Linked DNA regions of Homo sapiens: all the other regions are linked to region 1. The links are contacts of gene promoters, found by promoter capture Hi-C in blood cells and fetal thymus (Javierre and others, 2016). All regions are on one chromosome and are shown on one strand. The core of a region is centred on a gene start or on the middle of the fragment in contact, and the rest is flanking DNA. Distances in the headings are between cores, read along the strand shown.

Evidence for each region. The method cuts DNA at HindIII sites, captures the fragments that hold promoters and counts their contacts. A CHiCAGO score of 5 or more calls a contact.
Region 2: a fragment that was not itself captured here is called in contact with the fragment with the promoter of PEDS1 in region 1 in 1 of 17 cell types (monocytes); the score reaches 5.5 in monocytes.
Region 3: a fragment that was not itself captured here is called in contact with the fragment with the promoter of PEDS1 in region 1 in 6 of 17 cell types (fetal thymus, total CD8 T cells, naive CD8 T cells and 3 more); the score reaches 10.7 in fetal thymus.
Region 4: a contact is called between a fragment that was not itself captured here and the fragment with the promoter of PEDS1 in region 1, in 9 of 17 cell types (neutrophils, monocytes, naive CD8 T cells and 6 more). The highest score is 9.5, in neutrophils.
Region 5: a fragment that was not itself captured here is called in contact with the fragment with the promoter of PEDS1 in region 1 in 1 of 17 cell types (activated CD4 T cells); the score reaches 5.3 in activated CD4 T cells.
Region 6: a fragment that was not itself captured here is called in contact with the fragment with the promoter of PEDS1 in region 1 in 1 of 17 cell types (activated CD4 T cells); the score reaches 5.0 in activated CD4 T cells.

The regions. Positions count from the first base shown.
Region 1 is chr20:50,152,332-50,155,031 of GRCh38, reverse strand. It overlaps PEDS1 (plasmanylethanolamine desaturase 1), which reads left to right and starts at 1,309. Exons shown (of 6, transcript NM_199129.4): 1 at 1,309-1,515. The coding sequence starts at 1,395. It overlaps PEDS1-UBE2V1 (PEDS1-UBE2V1 readthrough), which reads left to right and starts at 1,309. Exons shown (of 8, transcript NM_199203.3): 1 at 1,309-1,515. The coding sequence starts at 1,395. RefSeq lists a silencer at 876-1,555. The HindIII fragment of the contact is 1,492 bases long and covers 1,137-2,628 here.
Region 2 is chr20:50,499,992-50,502,691 of GRCh38, reverse strand. No RefSeq gene overlaps it. Among named protein-coding and RNA genes, the nearest start is that of PTPN1, 9.0 kb to the left of the region's middle. The HindIII fragment of the contact is 1,910 bases long and covers 389-2,298 here.
Region 3 is chr20:50,462,004-50,464,703 of GRCh38, reverse strand. No RefSeq gene overlaps it. Among named protein-coding and RNA genes, the nearest start is that of PTPN1, 47 kb to the left of the region's middle. The HindIII fragment of the contact is 1,375 bases long and covers 626-2,000 here.
Region 4 is chr20:50,482,043-50,484,742 of GRCh38, reverse strand. No RefSeq gene overlaps it. Among named protein-coding and RNA genes, the nearest start is that of PTPN1, 27 kb to the left of the region's middle. RefSeq lists enhancers at 762-871, 912-961. The HindIII fragment of the contact is 1,648 bases long and covers 611-2,258 here.
Region 5 is chr20:50,548,923-50,551,622 of GRCh38, reverse strand. The region is part of intron 1 of PTPN1 (protein tyrosine phosphatase non-receptor type 1); the gene reads right to left. Among named protein-coding and RNA genes, the nearest start is that of MIR645, 36 kb to the left of the region's middle. The HindIII fragment of the contact is 919 bases long and covers 972-1,890 here.
Region 6 is chr20:50,526,285-50,528,992 of GRCh38, reverse strand. All of the region lies in intron 1 of PTPN1 (protein tyrosine phosphatase non-receptor type 1), which reads right to left. Among named protein-coding and RNA genes, the nearest start is that of PTPN1, 17 kb to the right of the region's middle. The HindIII fragment of the contact is 1,185 bases long and covers 821-2,005 here.

The DNA.
Region 1 (2,700 bases), core at 60-2,559:
CCGCCTCCCGGGTTCACGCCATTCTCCTGTCTCAGCCTCCCGAGTAGCTGGGACTACAGGCGCCCGCCACCGCGCCCAGCTAATTTTTTGTATTTTTAGTAGAGACGGGGTTTCACCGTGTTAGCCAGGATGGTCTCGATCTCCTGACCTCATGATCCGCCCGCCTTGGCCTCCCAAAGTGCTGGGATTACCGGCGTGAGCCACCGCGCCCGGCTGCCTGTATGGAATTTCTATGAGAAATTATTGCATACTTTGTTGTCGGTTAGACCTGGGGTAAATCCCTGCTGCTGTCATTTATCTGCCGAAGTATTAGACGCATCTGGCTGAGCCTTAATTCATTCATCAAGCATTTATTGAGCTTCTACCATGTTCCAGCCCCGATCCTGGCACGGGGGCCCTGCTGTAAACAAAGCTGTTCTCTGCCCTCAGGAGCTTGCTCTCTGATAGGAGAGACAGGGACTGCAAGCTCAATCCCCACCAGAAGCGCTGTGAAGACAAAACAGGGTGATGTCACAGTGACTGGAGGAGGGGGCACCTTTGAGCAGGGTGGTGGTGGTGGGGCTCTCTGAGGAGGCAATACCATTGGTGTTTAAGAGTCAAATAAATGTTGCTCGTCTAGCTCTTGGTCCAGCACCTGACAGATATTAAGCGCTCAGCAAATCTCATAGTGACCCTAGTTGTCATTTTCATTAGTTTACTGTCCTCGCCACCGGGAGAACATGAGCTGGGGAGGATGCGGGGCAGGCTCGACGTTTCTCCTCTTTGGGCGCACAGCACAGAGCTGGCACACAGCTGATGAACACATGGCACCCGAAACCTCTGCACACAGTAGGGCTTGATAAACCAGCCCACTCTCCATCGGCCTCGCTAGGGAGCATCGTACAGAGCACCCGCCAAATGCTTCCTGGCCTCGGCCCCAGCCCGGCGCCCTGCCCTCGCGTTCCTTGCACACAGTGGGCGCTTAACGCTGCCGGCTCAAGAAATGCCCATTTCTGGGCCCTGCCTCGGCCCATTGCATGGGCCCGTGAACCGAAGCCTAGCTGGGCGGCGACGCGCCGCGAGCTCCCAGTGGGCTGGAGCCGGGAGCCCTGCCGGGGCTGAGCTGGGAAGGCGGGCACGCGCCTCCGCCCCAAGCTTCCGCGCCCAGCTGCGTCCAGCTGCGTCCCAGCCTCCGGCTCGCGGCGGTTGGCTGCGGCTCAGCGACGTCCGATTGGCCTGCGCGGCTCCGGCGCGAGCCCCGATTGGCTGTGACGCGCGGCCGGGCGAGGACCCCGCCCGCGCCGCCGCCGCGCCCGGCGCTGGGCGGTCATTGGGCGGCGTGATCTCGCCGCGGTTCCGCGGCCCTGCCGCCGCCGCCGCCAGCAGAGCGCACCGGGCCGATCGGGCGAGTGGCCATGGCGGGCGCCGAGAACTGGCCGGGCCAGCAGCTGGAGCTGGACGAGGACGAGGCGTCTTGTTGCCGCTGGGGCGCGCAGCACGCCGGGGCCCGCGAGCTGGCTGCGCTCTACTCGCCAGGTAAGACCTCTGGGCCCCCCTCCAGGCCTGCGGTCACCAGCCCCGGCTGCGGACAGCGACCCCAGACTGGAGTCCCAACCTCGGGCCCAGATGCGGAACTCCAGCCCGGGTGTCTAACTTGCAAATAGCAAGTTCGGGGACCCCACCCCAGTGTCCCTTCCGAACCCAAGCCAGAACCTTGGCCCCGGGGTTTCCTGGCTGCAGAGACACTCCCCAGATCAAGAAATTACCATGAGCTCCCTGGGCGACAAACGGAGCTCCCATCGGACCCGCAGATACGGAATCCTAGCCCCGGGGCATTCTCGGTTGTGAAGAGTGCTCCTAGACTTAGAACCCCACCCCCTCATCCCCCCAGGACCCGGTCCAAGCCCAAAGCTGCCCTTCAGCTGTAAGCACTGCCCTCAGGCCCCTAAAAGTCACACCTCATCCTGGGTTCCCCAGATCTGGAATCTACATCCTAGTACCTCCTCTGTGCCCTAGCCCAGGCCCTGGGCTGCAAACAATGACCTCACCTCCCTAACCTGGGAATGTCAGCCCCTCTGCCCAGGGAACCCTAACTCAGGGGCTTCCAGCTGCACGGTACCCCCCACACCCTTCCCCCAAAACCCCATCCTAGTGATAGCTTCAGTGGCTACAGACCGATATCCTCTCCCCAACCCTCCAGTGGTGAGCATCAGTCCTTGCCCCATATTCCTGGATCCCAGGCAGTGAGGGGACTGAATGTACCCCACTGTAAGCTCCCCTGTACATAAGCCCCAACTCTAGCTCTTGCCCCTCCCTCACATCCATGTATTGGCCCCTTCCTTAGGACTTGGGACTGGAACCCCCATATTCCCCAGACCAGATCATAAGTTGGAGTTCACCTCTCCCTCTCTGTCCCTTTCCCTCAGGCCACGGTTTCTCCCTAGCTTCTTCCTGCTTTGCTCACTGTATATGCTCCAGCAAGCACCCCCCCTACACCCACTTTTGTGACTCCTACGTGAGCCCTAGGAATTTTACTGTTTGGCCTCAGGAGGGCCCTATATCCCCAGGAGTTAAGGAAGTGCCTTTGAGAACTCCTGGTTCAGGTGACTGGGAGGCACCTCTACCTGGGTGTCACCATGGAATGAAGCTTTGTTTGTCAAATATCCTGACATCCTTCCTTTTTCTGTGGGGCAGCCACCAAGCACCACATGCAGCCCTTGC
Region 2 (2,700 bases), core at 94-2,593, 350 kb before region 1:
CTCTCCAAGGACTCCCATGAGCTCTAAAAACAATAGTAATAACAATGAGGATAATAATAACGATAATCATTCATTAACACCACCACTCTGGAGCCTGTACTATTGTGATCTCCATTTGAACCGTGGCACAGAGAGGTTAAGCAACTTGCCCACAGTCACACAGATGAGAAATGGTGGAGTCAGGATTTGAACCCAGTTCAGCTCTATTTGCTGCTTCTAGTTCTGAAACTATATTAAATATATGAGTTCTGCACTATTTCAGAACTCACGGGAAGGTTAACAGCCCAGAATCTCCCACTCACGTCTCTACTGGGCTTCATTTTTACTGGGCTTCATTTTTAATGGGCGACTCCCCTGCCTCTCTACCACCCGGAAGACATTTTAAGCTTTACAGCAAGTCATTAAAAAGAAACAAAAATAAATGCGTAAACATAATCCCACGCTGCCTGTCTGGTAAGAGCAACTTCCCCGGTGGGGGAGGAGGAGGCATTCAGGGGGAACTAGGGGAATCACATGTGTTCTGAGAAAGGAGGGTCAGAGATGTGCGGGAAAGTTCAAGGAGGGAAGTTGGATCCAAAGATGGAAACCGGTCCCAGCTCCATGCTTTCAGCAAAGGAGGAGTCTGGGGAGGGTTTCCAGAGGCCCCTACAACATCCTCCACACTCTAGTTTGCAGGGCTGAGGCTTGCGGGGGCACTTTCACTGTACACATGGTGGTTCTGGGTGTGGGTTCTGGAATTAGGCTGAATTGGGCTCATGTGCCCTTGGGCAAGTTCCTTACCCTCTCCAATCCTTGGTTTTCCATCTTTTACAGAATGCAGGGATGTGATGATTAAATGAGAGTATGTGTGTAAAGCACTCAGCCTGGTCTCTAGTTCACAGCAAGGACTCAAAAATTTTGCTGTTGTTCTACAGTTGTGTAAGTTGCTGAGTGGAAAAAAGCAAGCTACCATCTGTCTTCAGAAGTTTTTCATAATATATATTGCAACCTGCAATTTTACAACCCTATTTTTTGTTCTGCTGCTGTAGGTGAACTTGGCTGGTTTCATGGGTGTGTGTGCAACCTGTGTGATTGCAGAGTCCCGAGCTCAGAAGGGGCCTGCACTTGTTTGCTCTGCTGTCTTTGTCTTGAAATTCTTTTGTTTGTTTGTTTGTTTCTTTGTTTTTGTTTGTTTTTGAGACTGAGTCTCGCTCTGTTGTCCAGGCTGGAGTGCAGTGGCGTGACCTTGGCTCTCTGCAACCTCTGCCTCTTGGGTTAAAGCAATTCTCCTGCCTCAGCCTCTCGAGTAGCTGGGATTACAGGCACCTGCCACCATGCCCGGCTAATTTTTTTTTTTTGTATTTTTAGTAGAGACGGGGTTTCACCATGTTGGCCAGGCTGGTTTTGAACTCCTGATCTCAAGTGATCTGCCCGCCTCGGCCTCCCAAATTGCTAGGATTACAGGTGTGAGCCACCGCACCCAGCCTTGAAATTCTTAATAATTTTTTTTTTTTTGAGATGGAGTCTTGCTCCGTTGCCCAGGCTGGAATGCAGTGGTGCAATCTTGGCTCACTGCAACCTCTGCCTCCCAGTTTCAAGAGATTCTCCTGCCTCAGCCTCCCGAGTGGCTGGGATTACAGGCACCCACCACCACGCCCGGCTAATTTTGGTGTTTTTAGTAGAGATGAGGTTTCACCATGTTGGCCAGGCTTGTCTCAAACTCCTGACCTCAGGAGATCCACCTGCCTCGGCCTCTGAAAGTGCAGGGATTACAGGCATGAGCGACTGTGCCTGGCCGAAACTCGCAATAATGTTTGAACAAGGAGCCCCGCATATTCATTCTGCATTGAGCTTATGTAACCAGTTCTGGAGGTGAAGTCTAGTTTTTCAAGTTTTTGAAGGGGATTTGGAGCCATTTTTGTCTTTGAAGATGAGAATGTTCTTCCATTATTCTGGGAGAAATCACTGCTCTTGGGGAGAATCCTAAGACAGTGATATTATCCAGATGCAGATTCCCCATGTTGAGTTGTTTCTTATTGTTTAATAATACTAGTTATGTTAGCTACATGTATTGGGCTTTGACGAAAGACTAGGCTCTGCACTAAGCTAGCACTTTACCTTTATCATCTCTCTACATCTTCCCAACAACCCTGTAAGAGAAACTGTCATTAACCTCATTTCACAGATGAGGAAACTGAGGCTTGGAGTGATACATGACTTGCCCACTGTTGCACACCAGCATTGTGATAATGCATGTAAGTTGGGTGGATCTGTACTAGGACCATAGCCTTTTAGAAAAGAGGAATGAATTTCTAAGCTTTGATTTAGCTAGAAGGGTTCCTGAAGTCCTTGGGAAAGATGTGTACCTTTTTGACCAAGTATTTGCTCCAGCAGTTTCTGTATTTGAAGATGAAACTGGTCTTCTGTTTGAGACTTGACTGTGCAGAGAAGAGGCGCTGACCTGAACTTTCCTTCCCCTTGTGCTGGTGGGAAGCCCTTGGAGAGGACTCTGATTTGGAATAACTGAAAGTGGAGGGACCCGGGCTTAGGGGATCGCACTTACAACTCTTGTGATGGCCTCATCCAGGCCACAGGGAAGTGAGCTGCAAGGGGAACCACATGGGGAATTGTACTTTCTTCAGGAGGACATGGATATTCCCACTGCCCATATCCTGGGGTAGGCAAGGAAGCCAGACTCACTGTGGGAAGGGGAGGGCCTTT
Region 3 (2,700 bases), core at 64-2,563, 310 kb before region 1:
ATGACAGCCACCTGTTAGGGGTGCCGCTATGTTGCACAGTTTCATGAATGGGGCCCCTGAAGTTGTGCAACATGGCGGTCCTGGAGAGAATCTCTGCGGGTTACCTCATTTAATTCCCACCTCCGCTCTGCCAGGTAGGCAGGATTACCTCCATTTCGCAGCTGAAAAAACTCAGATTCAGGGAAGTTCAGTGCCTGGCTCAGGACCGCAGCTGGAGGGGTCGGGGAGAGGCTCTAACCCTCCGGCTTGAAGGTGTAGTTTCAGACTTGGCCACTTGGTGTCACTCTCTCCAAACTGTCGGAAGAACCTCTGAGCTGGCCGGTTTGTGGGGGACTCCGGGCCCAGCTAGTTGCACACTGATCCCCAGTCCGGCAAAGCGGCCCCTCCTGTCCTCCCTCCGCCCTGTCACCCTTGCGGGGTGCAGAATTTCTGCCTGTTCCCTGTTTGAACTGGGTCTCTGAGTACGCCTGAGCCAAGTACTTCACAGGCATGATCTCACTCGAGCCTGCCAGCAGCAATGTGGTCTCAGACTACAGATGAGGAAACTGAGGCCAACGGCGTAGGAGCAACTTGCCCAGCTAGTAAGTGGCAGTCAGAGTTTGAACTCAGGTCTGAGTTAGAAGCTTGGCGTTTTGATGCCCAGAAAGTGCATGGTAGGACAGTTGTATTAATTCTCGATTTTTCATAGAATATATTTCCAACCCACTCCTCAGTCTCTGTAATGTCCTTGGCAATGAAAATAATCTGCCTGTTTAGAGAAGTGTATGTGTTTTTGGTCTTTTCTTTTTTTCATGTAGAAGTTAGTTTTCCCCTGACTACCAAGAGAACACTGAGGTGTTTACTTACTTAATTTTTAAAAAAATTATCTGAATATACCTTGATAATTATTTATTTTATTTTATTTTATTTTATTTTAAGACGGAGTCTCGCTCTGTTGCCCAGGCTGGAGTGCAGTGGTGTGATCTGGGCTCACTGTAACCTCTGCCTCCCAGGTTCAAGTGATTCTCCTGCCTCAGCCTTCTGAGTAGCTGGGACTACAGGTGAGCACCACCACACCCAGCTAATTTTTTTTTTTTTTTGTATTTTTAGTAAAGACGCGGTTTCACTATGTTGCCCAGGCTGGTCTCAAACTCCTGGGCTCAAATGATCCTCCTGCCTCGGCCTCCTAGAGTGCTAGGATTTACAGGCATGGGCCACCACACCCGGCTGGTAATTATTTTTTTAAATTAGAAAATCTAAGTAAAAAGAACAAAATATAGCCAGAAGTGGTGGTGCATGCCTGTGGTCCCAGCTACTTGGGAGGCTGAAGCTGGAGGATCACTTGAGCCTAGAAGATCAAGGCTGCAGGGTGCTATGATTATGCCACTGTACTCTAGCCTAGGTGACAAAGTGAGACCCTGTCTCTGTATTTTTTAAAAAGAACAGACCGGGCACAGTGGCTCACACCTGTAATCCTAGCACTTTGGGAAGCTGAAACAGAGGGATCGTTTGAGCCCAGGAGTTCAAAACCAGCTTGGGCAACTTAGTGAGACTTCGTCTTTACAAAAAAAAATTTAATTAAAAATAAAAAATCAGCCAGGCATGGTGGCAAGTGCCTATAGTCCCAGCCACTCAGGAGGCTAAGCTGGGAGGATCACTTAAGCCCAGGAGGCAGAGGTTTCAATGAGTGGTGATCGCATCACTGCACTCCAGCCTGGGTGATAGAGCAAGATCTTGTCTCAAAATAAATAATTGATTAGAGAAATAATAAAAAAAGAACAAAATAAAAGTCGCTTCTAATTCACATCAGCCACCCAGAGATAAGTGCTATTGACACGTTGGAGCATATCCTTCAAGGCATTTTTCTCTCTGTCATCTATCAATGCATTAAAAAGTTCCATTTTTAAAAACTAACAAGGGATTGTATTCATATGCAAAAATTCAAAAGATACCAAAAGATTTACAGTGGGTCTTCTCCCTCTAATCCTTAACCCCCATCCCCAGCTTTAAAACTCCAAGCTTCCCTCCCCAGAATCCATTCTGGTTATCATTTCTTGGGGATCATTACAGAGACATCCAGAACACAGATAAGCAAATATGTGCGTGGATTCCTGTACTCATTTCTCTAAATAGAAGCACACCACACACCCTGTTCTGCACTGGGATTTTGTTTTTTTCAACTTAGCAATGTACCTTGGCAGATCTTTCCAGATCAGCACTAGGAGAGCATTCTTTGCACATTCCATTGTCTGAATATAATAATTTATCTAACAAGTTTTCTGGTGATAGTCACGGAGGTATTTCCAGGGTTTTTCTGCAACAAACAATGCTGCAATTAGTATCCCTTTCACAGAAGTCTTTCCATGTATTCAGAGCTATTTCTGATGGATACATTCTTAGCAACTGAATCGCCCAGTCATAGGGCAGGTGCGTTTAAACATTTTGACGCTGGTTGTCTAAATGCTCTCTAAGGTTGTACCTACCAATCGTCATTTGCACCGGCAACCTCCGTGAGCTCTGGTTTCCCCACGTCCTAGCCAAGGCCAAGTATGATTGGACTTCTTGATCTTGGCCTTGCCGATAGGGGAAAAAGGTGTTCACCATAGTTCTAATCTACATATTCATTGTTTATATGTTAGATTGGACATTTAAAAAATACGTTCAAAGACTGTTTATATTTCTTTTCTGGTGGCAAAGCATTCAAATTGTTAGTCTATTTTT
Region 4 (2,700 bases), core at 185-2,684, 330 kb before region 1:
TCTGCCTGGCTAATGCCTATTGTCACATGGATCTCGTCCTAAAGGCACTTCCTTGTGGGTATGCCTAGATTCTGTTTCCTTGTTACATGTTTTCGTATCTGCCTTTCTTATTTACCACAGTGGTTCTCAACTGGGAGTGATTTTGCCCCCCAGGGGCCATTTGACAATGTCTGGAAACATTTTTGGTTGTCAAAACCAGGGTAAGAATGCTACTGGCATCTAGTGGGTAGAGGCCAGAGACGCTGCTAAATATCCTACAATGCCCAGAACAGCCTACAGGAATGATCCAGTCAAAATTTCACTAATGCGGAGGTTGAGAAACCTGTATCACAACGTAATCAACTAATTGCTTTTTATGGCTGCCTTCCTGTTCCCATCTCACTCCCCCACTTCCCCATCTAGGCTTCCCTTACCCCCTCCTCGCCATGTGTATTTAGCTGTTTAATGCCTCCTTTTCCTGCTAGAGTATAAAGCCTAAGGGGCAAGGATTGTGTCTGTCTTGTTTTCTATATATTGCGTATCATAGGTGCTTAATAAATGTGTCAAATGAATAAAAGAGCAAATGAAAACTATCTTTCATAAAGCACATCTTTAAGGACACCAGAAAGCTTTCCTCTTGACTTCTGTCTTGGTAACTCTAAATATTATTTGGAAAAAAAATAAACAAGGTGGTGGGGAGGAGGGAGAGGGAGAGAAAAGCAGAGAAGAGGAGGACAAGGAGAAAAGGAAGAGGGAGATAGAGAACACTGTCTTTGTAGACTCAATCTGAGCTGGAATTCCAGCACTTAACTGTCACATAGTCAAGAGCAAGTCACTTTCCCTCTCTGAGCTCGTTTTTCTCAACTGTACAATGGGAATCAGAAAACGAAAGTAACTGTGCTAATGGCTGGCAACTACCCTGCACTTTATAAATGTTAGTTTTGTTCCTTTCTTCCTTTCCCCTCCTTCTCCTAAGTTTCCTGGCCAGCATCAGTGCTCACTCATCCTCCTCAGCCCACTCAAGAGAGCTGCCTGAAGCTAGATGGACAGTTCTATAAATGCTGGTGACGTATACCCAACCTCCGGCACCCGCATCTCTCTGCCCAGAGCCTGTGTGCTTCATGTGCGCATGGCAGGTCACATGTGTGGGAAGGGAAGTGTACTGGAGTTGCTGGCCCCGGGCACCACCTTCAACCGCTGAGAGTGGTCATTGCGGATAAACAGCACAGTTTCCCCAACCCTTCCTGAGACAATCTTGCGGTATACTCCACATCATCCCCTGAGGGCCCCTCTGGGACTGTGCCCCAGTTGCCCATAAAGGTAACTAGCTCTTTTTTTTGTTTGTTTGTTTGTTTTTGAGACAGAGTCTTGCCCTGTTGCCCAGACTGGAGTGCAGTGGCATGATCTTGGCTCACTACAACCTCTGCCTCCCGGGTTCAAGCAATTCTCCTGCCTCAGCCTCCCAAGTACCTGGGATTACAGGCACCCACCGTCACGCCCGGCTAATTTTTGTATTTTGTTTCACCATGTTGACTAGGCTGGTCTTGAACTCCTGACTTCAGGTGATCCGCCCTCCTCAGCCTCCCAAAGTGCTGGGATTACAGGCATGAGCCACTGCGCCTGGCCAACTGCCCAACTTCTAACTGGTAGTATGTGCATCTTTTTCTATGAGTTTTTTGGGTTTTTTCTTCTGGTTGTCAGAGTCAAGCAGCCTAAAGGAGGTTGGAGAATGAATATTCCTTCTCTTCTTTCCAGCTGCCTTCAACCAAGGAATGGATAGAGGTGGTGTATAAATACCCCAGCTTCCTGATTGTTTTGCAGTGGGCAGGTCTATGCAAACTTACCCCAAAGTCCAAGGAAGCTGAGAGGCTGAAGAGATGATGCTGACATACTCAGTTCCTTAGAAAGAAACTTTTAATAGAAACTTAGAAACAGATGCCACGTCTGTGTCTCCTGCGGTGGCCAGACAAGATGGTGGATCCCCACTCCATTATCTCCCAGACCCAGGGCTTCTATACCATAGGAGAGGGGTGGTTCAGAAGGGATGTGTAGAACAGTTGAAGTAAGATAACATCAAGGTTGTTTGACCTAAGGACAGGATATAGAGTCAGAACCTGCTCTTACACAAGGAATAATAGATAAACTAGAAATCTTAGAGGCCTTCTTGGAACAGGGGTTAATCAGAAGCCAACATGGCGGATTAGCTTCCAAGATGGAGTTGCTGATCCTTCAGGTAAGATAACTCTGAGACATGTGTTCTACACAGGTGGAATTAAGCTTCACTTGCCTAGGGCAGTAACTGTCTTGATAACTTGCTTAATATTGGTTGTCCTCCTTTCCCTGGGTCTCTTTTCTTCTCTACTCGTATTTCTTTTGCCTTCCAAAGAAGTGATGTGTCCTTGAGTCTTTGTCTCAGGGTCTGTATCTAGAGAATCTAAACTAAGATATGAGGTGTGCCAACAGGGGATTCCAAACTAAGACACTTATCAATTAGATCCAATTGCAAACGGTCTTGCTTTAAATCTCCCCAAAAGAACAGAATGGGACATGCTGTTCTTCAACTAAACAGCACTCCTGTTTACCATCTGGGGCCAAACCACGGGGCTCCTATTCCCTGAGTGGAAGGACCTCATCTTCCCATGGTATTCACAAGGCTCACACCCCACCTTTTCATACATAAATCACCCCCTTTATTTCACATGAACATCTTTGTTGTATTTT
Region 5 (2,700 bases), core at 182-2,681, 400 kb before region 1:
TAGATTTCAGAAATGTGATAGAATAAAACGCCACACATCATAGATGTCAAATGTGTACGGCTCTCCCAGAGTGCACGCCTGATCATGTGCTCCTGAAGCAGGCTTGGGTGTGCCCAAAGCTTACAGGTAAATGGTTTCCATTTCACTGTATCATTTTACATAGGCATCAGGCACACAAAGTGATCTGAATCATTTCTGTGGTAAACCATTGTCATGAGAGAAAAAAGCAAGTCCTTCCAAAGTTATGATTTAGCTAGGCTAGGAAGATTCACAAGCACTTGATCAAGTTTAAACAAAGCATCTGCTGAGCTGGAGATTTTAAAAGGGGCAAGGAGGGGCAGAAACCTTCTTCACCTGAATAGTTTTTATAGCTCTTCCTCATTTCCCATCCTTCCCCACTCATTTAAGAAGGTAACAGATGATCTCCCAATGAACACAAAGGGGTAACATGCTTACAAAACTCTGGTAACAGAATGAATTAGAGCCTGGAGTTAATTAATTTTTATATTTATTCAGGAAAGCTCATTATCCATTATTCAGACACCTCCCAAACTCAATTAGGCAAAAAGTCAAACTTGGGTGAAAAGCTGGCAATATTTGATTAGAGATTTCTATTTCTCCTGAAAACACACAGGCATAAAAGCCAGTTTATCCTTGCGGAAATATTTCCATGTTTATATTAAGCACTTCATCAAGTGAAACATCACAATCTGGGTTTAACACCCTTCTCCTCGGTCCACAACTGGGTGAATGTCTCTTACGGGCTCCATGGTAAAATGCATTACTCATTTTAAAGCTATCTGCTAAGTGAAGAAGTAGAGGCAGCAACCCATTAGCAGCCAGGAGTCTGAGAAGAAGTGCTTTGGACTCTCATCTTAGTGTCCCCTCCTAACACAGGCCCAGGCCCAGGGTAGGCACTCAACATAATTTTGTTAACTGAATCAATGGATACTTCAAAGGTTCCCAAAGCTTGAAGTGTCCTTAACAATATACCAACATTCTTTATAGAACAGAAGTGCTCCTGAAAGGGAATGTGTATAAGCAAATATCTGATCCAATCCTATTTTCTCAATTACTTGTTACAAAATGGAAATTACTGAAATCACATTTATTTTATTTATTTGCAGTTGACCCACACAGCCTTCTGACCAAACAGTGTCAAAATAGTTACTAAAACATGGATTCAAAGCAGAAAGAGTAATTTTTGAAAGTGATCTCTGTTTTAAAAGTCTGAAGGAATAAAAAATTCCAAGGGTACCTTTTACTCACTGGAACTTCAGGGAACTACAAAGTCCCTTAGCACCCATCACATCTTCTAAGATCTCCCGGAACCTCCATTCTACAAATGGTTATCTAATTTGATTGTTCGGGTTGTTACCTGGTTCTTCAGGGAAGCTACTGGCTTTCAGAAATGTACAGACAGAGCTAGATTGAAGGGAAATGCAGAAATATAGTAAAGGCAATGATTTAAAATGCAGTAAGTGAACACACAGTGTACATTTCCTGGAACTCTTGCAGTAGTCGCTGAATAGGGAGATATATATAGAAGGGGGGGTGGGGTAACTAGCATAAAATTTTAGAAACCAGATCTTCAAAGTAATGCATGTTGAACAAATTTTGTTAATCACAAATCTCATTATAAATGAGAAAATTTCTATGTAACAAAGTATACTCCGAGGAATATACAAATCATCAGAGGTTCAATGTCTTCCAGGTCAAAAGCAATGCTATATATGAAAGTTAATGAAACGATATAATTTACTACAAAAACCTTAGGAAAATATTTTTATTATATTTATGTGTACATTCATATAAGCAATATGAAATAAATCATATACTTAATATGAAATGCTAAGATAAACTACACTGTTTAATAATAAAGAAAAAGCTTAAAATTAAGCTAATCAGTACCAAGTCTGTTTTGGTTTAAATTTTAAAATGACTATGTACTGAATAAGAACACATACTAAAAAGCAAACCAGAATCTTTTGGTTTGGTGATAGTTGAATGAAAGACAGGGGTTGAGGGGAGGAAGGGGCAAAACTGGTCAGCATTGAAAAGGCAGCAGGATACCAAGTAACTGTCCCTGCCACAGCTGGAGGAAGCGTTGGGTCCGCTTGTACAGTGGTCTGGGGCAAGGTTAATAGATAATGGAGCTACAAGTCACTAACAGAACAATTATGTGCACTTGGAAAACTACGTGGAAAAAAAACAATCAACTGCTTTACAAACTCCCCACAAATCAAGGGATAAGGGCAGGAATGAGGGCATGAAAAATGCTTCGTGAAACTGGCATGGAGACCTTCTGGTGGAGAGGGTGGGGCTGCTTTCACACTCTGATGTACACCCACTGCTCCAAATATAAAACAATGGTCAATTAAATTTAGAGAAAACCATAAAGGCACAGCTAGGCTCAAAAACAGCATGAGAATAAAAACAAAACAAAAGGCTCCCAACTCAAAATGACCTAGAAGCAAGGTATCAAACACAGAAGACAACTAGTTAGTTCTACAAATGATAACCAACAAATCAACTAGAACAAAAATCCATTCCATATGCAATTTATTGTATAGCTTGTTGGGGACTTTAAAAATAAACATACTTGGGCCAAGCGTGGTGGCTCATGCCTGTAATCCCAGCACTTTGGGAGGCCAAGGCGGGCGGATCACTTCAGGTCACAAGTTCAAGACCAGCCTGGCC
Region 6 (2,708 bases), core at 164-2,663, 370 kb before region 1:
CGCTGAGAAATGGTATACAATCTCATGGGGGGAAAACACCACATACAGAAAATTACTATAAAAAGGAACAGAGAAAACAAAGTGTAAAATCTAAATTGATCCTGGGTAACACATGGTTCAACACAATACCATCAACTCAAAGCCTCCCTAGCAATCACGGTTTCCAATTCATGAACCTTCTAAACAGCATTCTCATCTATTCATTCAGGAACTACTTATTGGGTATTTTCTTTCTTTTTTCTTTTTTTTTTTTTTTAAGATGGAGTCTTTTTTTTTTTTAAGATGGAGTCTCACTCTGTCACCCAGGCTGGAGTGCAGTGGAGTGATCTCAGCTCACTGCAACCTCCACCTCCCCAGTTCAAGTGATTCTCCTGCCTCAGCCTCCCAAGTAGCTGGGACTACAGGCACCCGCCACCACGCCTGGCTAATTTTTGTATTTTTAGTAGAGACAGGGTTTCACCATGTTGGCCAGGCTGGTCTCAAACTCCTGACCTCAAGTGATCCGCCCACCTCAGCCTACCAAAGTGCTCGGATTACAGGTATGAGCCACTGCGACTGGCCTTGTTGGGTATTTTCTATATGCCAAACACTATATTGGGTACTAAGAGATACAAATGACTAGAACAAAAGCAGCCCCGCCCTTTATAAGACTTGATAGATTACTTGGCAATAGGTAAGTAAACAGGCTATTACAGAGCAATGCGTGTTATTACAGTATACTCAGACATGGTGCTATGAAAGGAGGCCTTCAGAGGGCCATGGGAGGACCTAGACAAGGCAGTTAACTTGGACCTGTGGAAAGGGGAAATCAGAGAAAGCTTCCCAGAAGAAATGTACAAAATGTGACTGGAAAGAAGAACGAGAATCAGTTAAGTAAAAGGTAGGATATTCCAGGCAGAGGAAACAGCATATGCAAGGCTCCATGAGAGGCAAAGACCACCACAATTTCAGGAACAAAGTGCCTCTGAAGGCTGTCCCATAGTGCACAGTGTATGTGTGCACACTGAATTCAAGGGCCGATGCTACATCCTGGGTGAGTGAATGAGATGGCTCAAAAAGAACAAAAGGGCTAAATGAAAGCAGCAGATTGGGTAAACCCTGTAGGAACTCCTCAAGTTGAGGAACAAACAGAGAAGACACCGATGAGTAAGGTCTAGGACTAGCTAGAGAAGCAGGAGATATAAAAGAAAAGGAAAAAATAGAGTTATTAAAACAGGGAAGGGAATATTCAATATGCAAATACAGGTCTACCACACTGAACTGCATTAAAATTAGGATGCAAAATATCCACTGTATTAGTAACAAGGAAGCAGATCTTGTCAAGAATTATTTCAGGCCAGGTGCGGTGGCTCACACCTGTAATCTCAGCACTTTGGGAGGCTGACGGGTGGATCACTTGAGGCTAGCCTGGCCAACATGGTCAACATGCCAACAAGCCTGGCCAACATGGTGAAGCCCCATCTCTACCAAAAATACAAAAAATTAGCCAGGCGTGATGACAGGCACCTGTAATCCCAGCTACTCAGGAGGCTGGGGCAGGAGAATCGCCTGAAGCCGGGAGGCAGAGGTTGCAGTGAGCCAAGACTGCGGCACTGCACTCCAGCCTGGGTGACAGAGCAAGACTCAGTCTGGAAAAAAAAAAAAATTATTTCAGTGGCTTGGTAGCATAGAGCCTCACTTCCCTGGAAGATAAACACACAGAGTGACTGGAAGATGAACGATGGGCAGAGTGACCTATTTACTTCAAAAATTTCAACCAGAGAAGGAGAGTATAAAGCAGTGGCTGGAGGGGCCGTCTCGGCTGGAGGAAGCTGAGAACGTTGAACTGGCATACATAAGATGATAATAGGGAGGGCCTGGGATCCATTCCTCGAGAGTCACCAACCCCTTATTGCAAGATGCCTTGAACAGGTGAGATGGGAAGGGGTCAGGAGCGCAGACTCTAGGAGCAAAGGCTCCTTTTCCCCTGTGAGAGAAATGAGGTGGAAAGGATGGCAGGTAAGCTTTAGATCTGATGGCCAGATGCTGGGGGAGACAGATTTGGGATTAAAGACTGGATTTCTAGGGGCTCAATACTGGGGGATTTTTTTTCCAGCAGCGCTTAGGAGCCTGGGCCCAGGAAGACAAAGACAGGGGAAGAGCCTGCTCCAGGGCTAGAGGTGGTAGGTAAGAAGATGGACACAAGTACAGTGGAGAGGCAGCATCTAAAGTGACTGACCACAGTCTCAGATGCATAAGGAGGGAAGTGAGGAGGCTGCGGTGGGGGGAGGAGAGAAACAGCTGGAAATCTGAATAAAGGAGAAAACCCAAACTAGAGAAAGCAACTGAGCGAGGGAATCTGGCAGCACAGAGGCTGTAACTAGAGAGCAGAAGGTCTGAGCTTAACAGTAGGTCAAAGGTAGAGACTATCTCAACTGCCAGGGAAGGAAATAGCTGGAAGAGAGGAACAGGAAGTTCCCTGGGACATGAGGTGATGATGCTGGGTGGGCTGCCCAAATGCACTGACATGGGCCAGGGGTGACAGAAGCCTTGATATGGAAAGACAGGTTGTGAGCCAGGTAAACTAAGGGGAGTAGGGAATGCTGCAAACAGGCCCATTTAAAATACAACTAAGCTGGGCATGGTGGCTCACACCTGTAATCCCAGCATTTTGGGAGCCCGAGGCGGGAGGATCACTTGAGTTTAGGAGTTCAAGACCAGCCTGGACA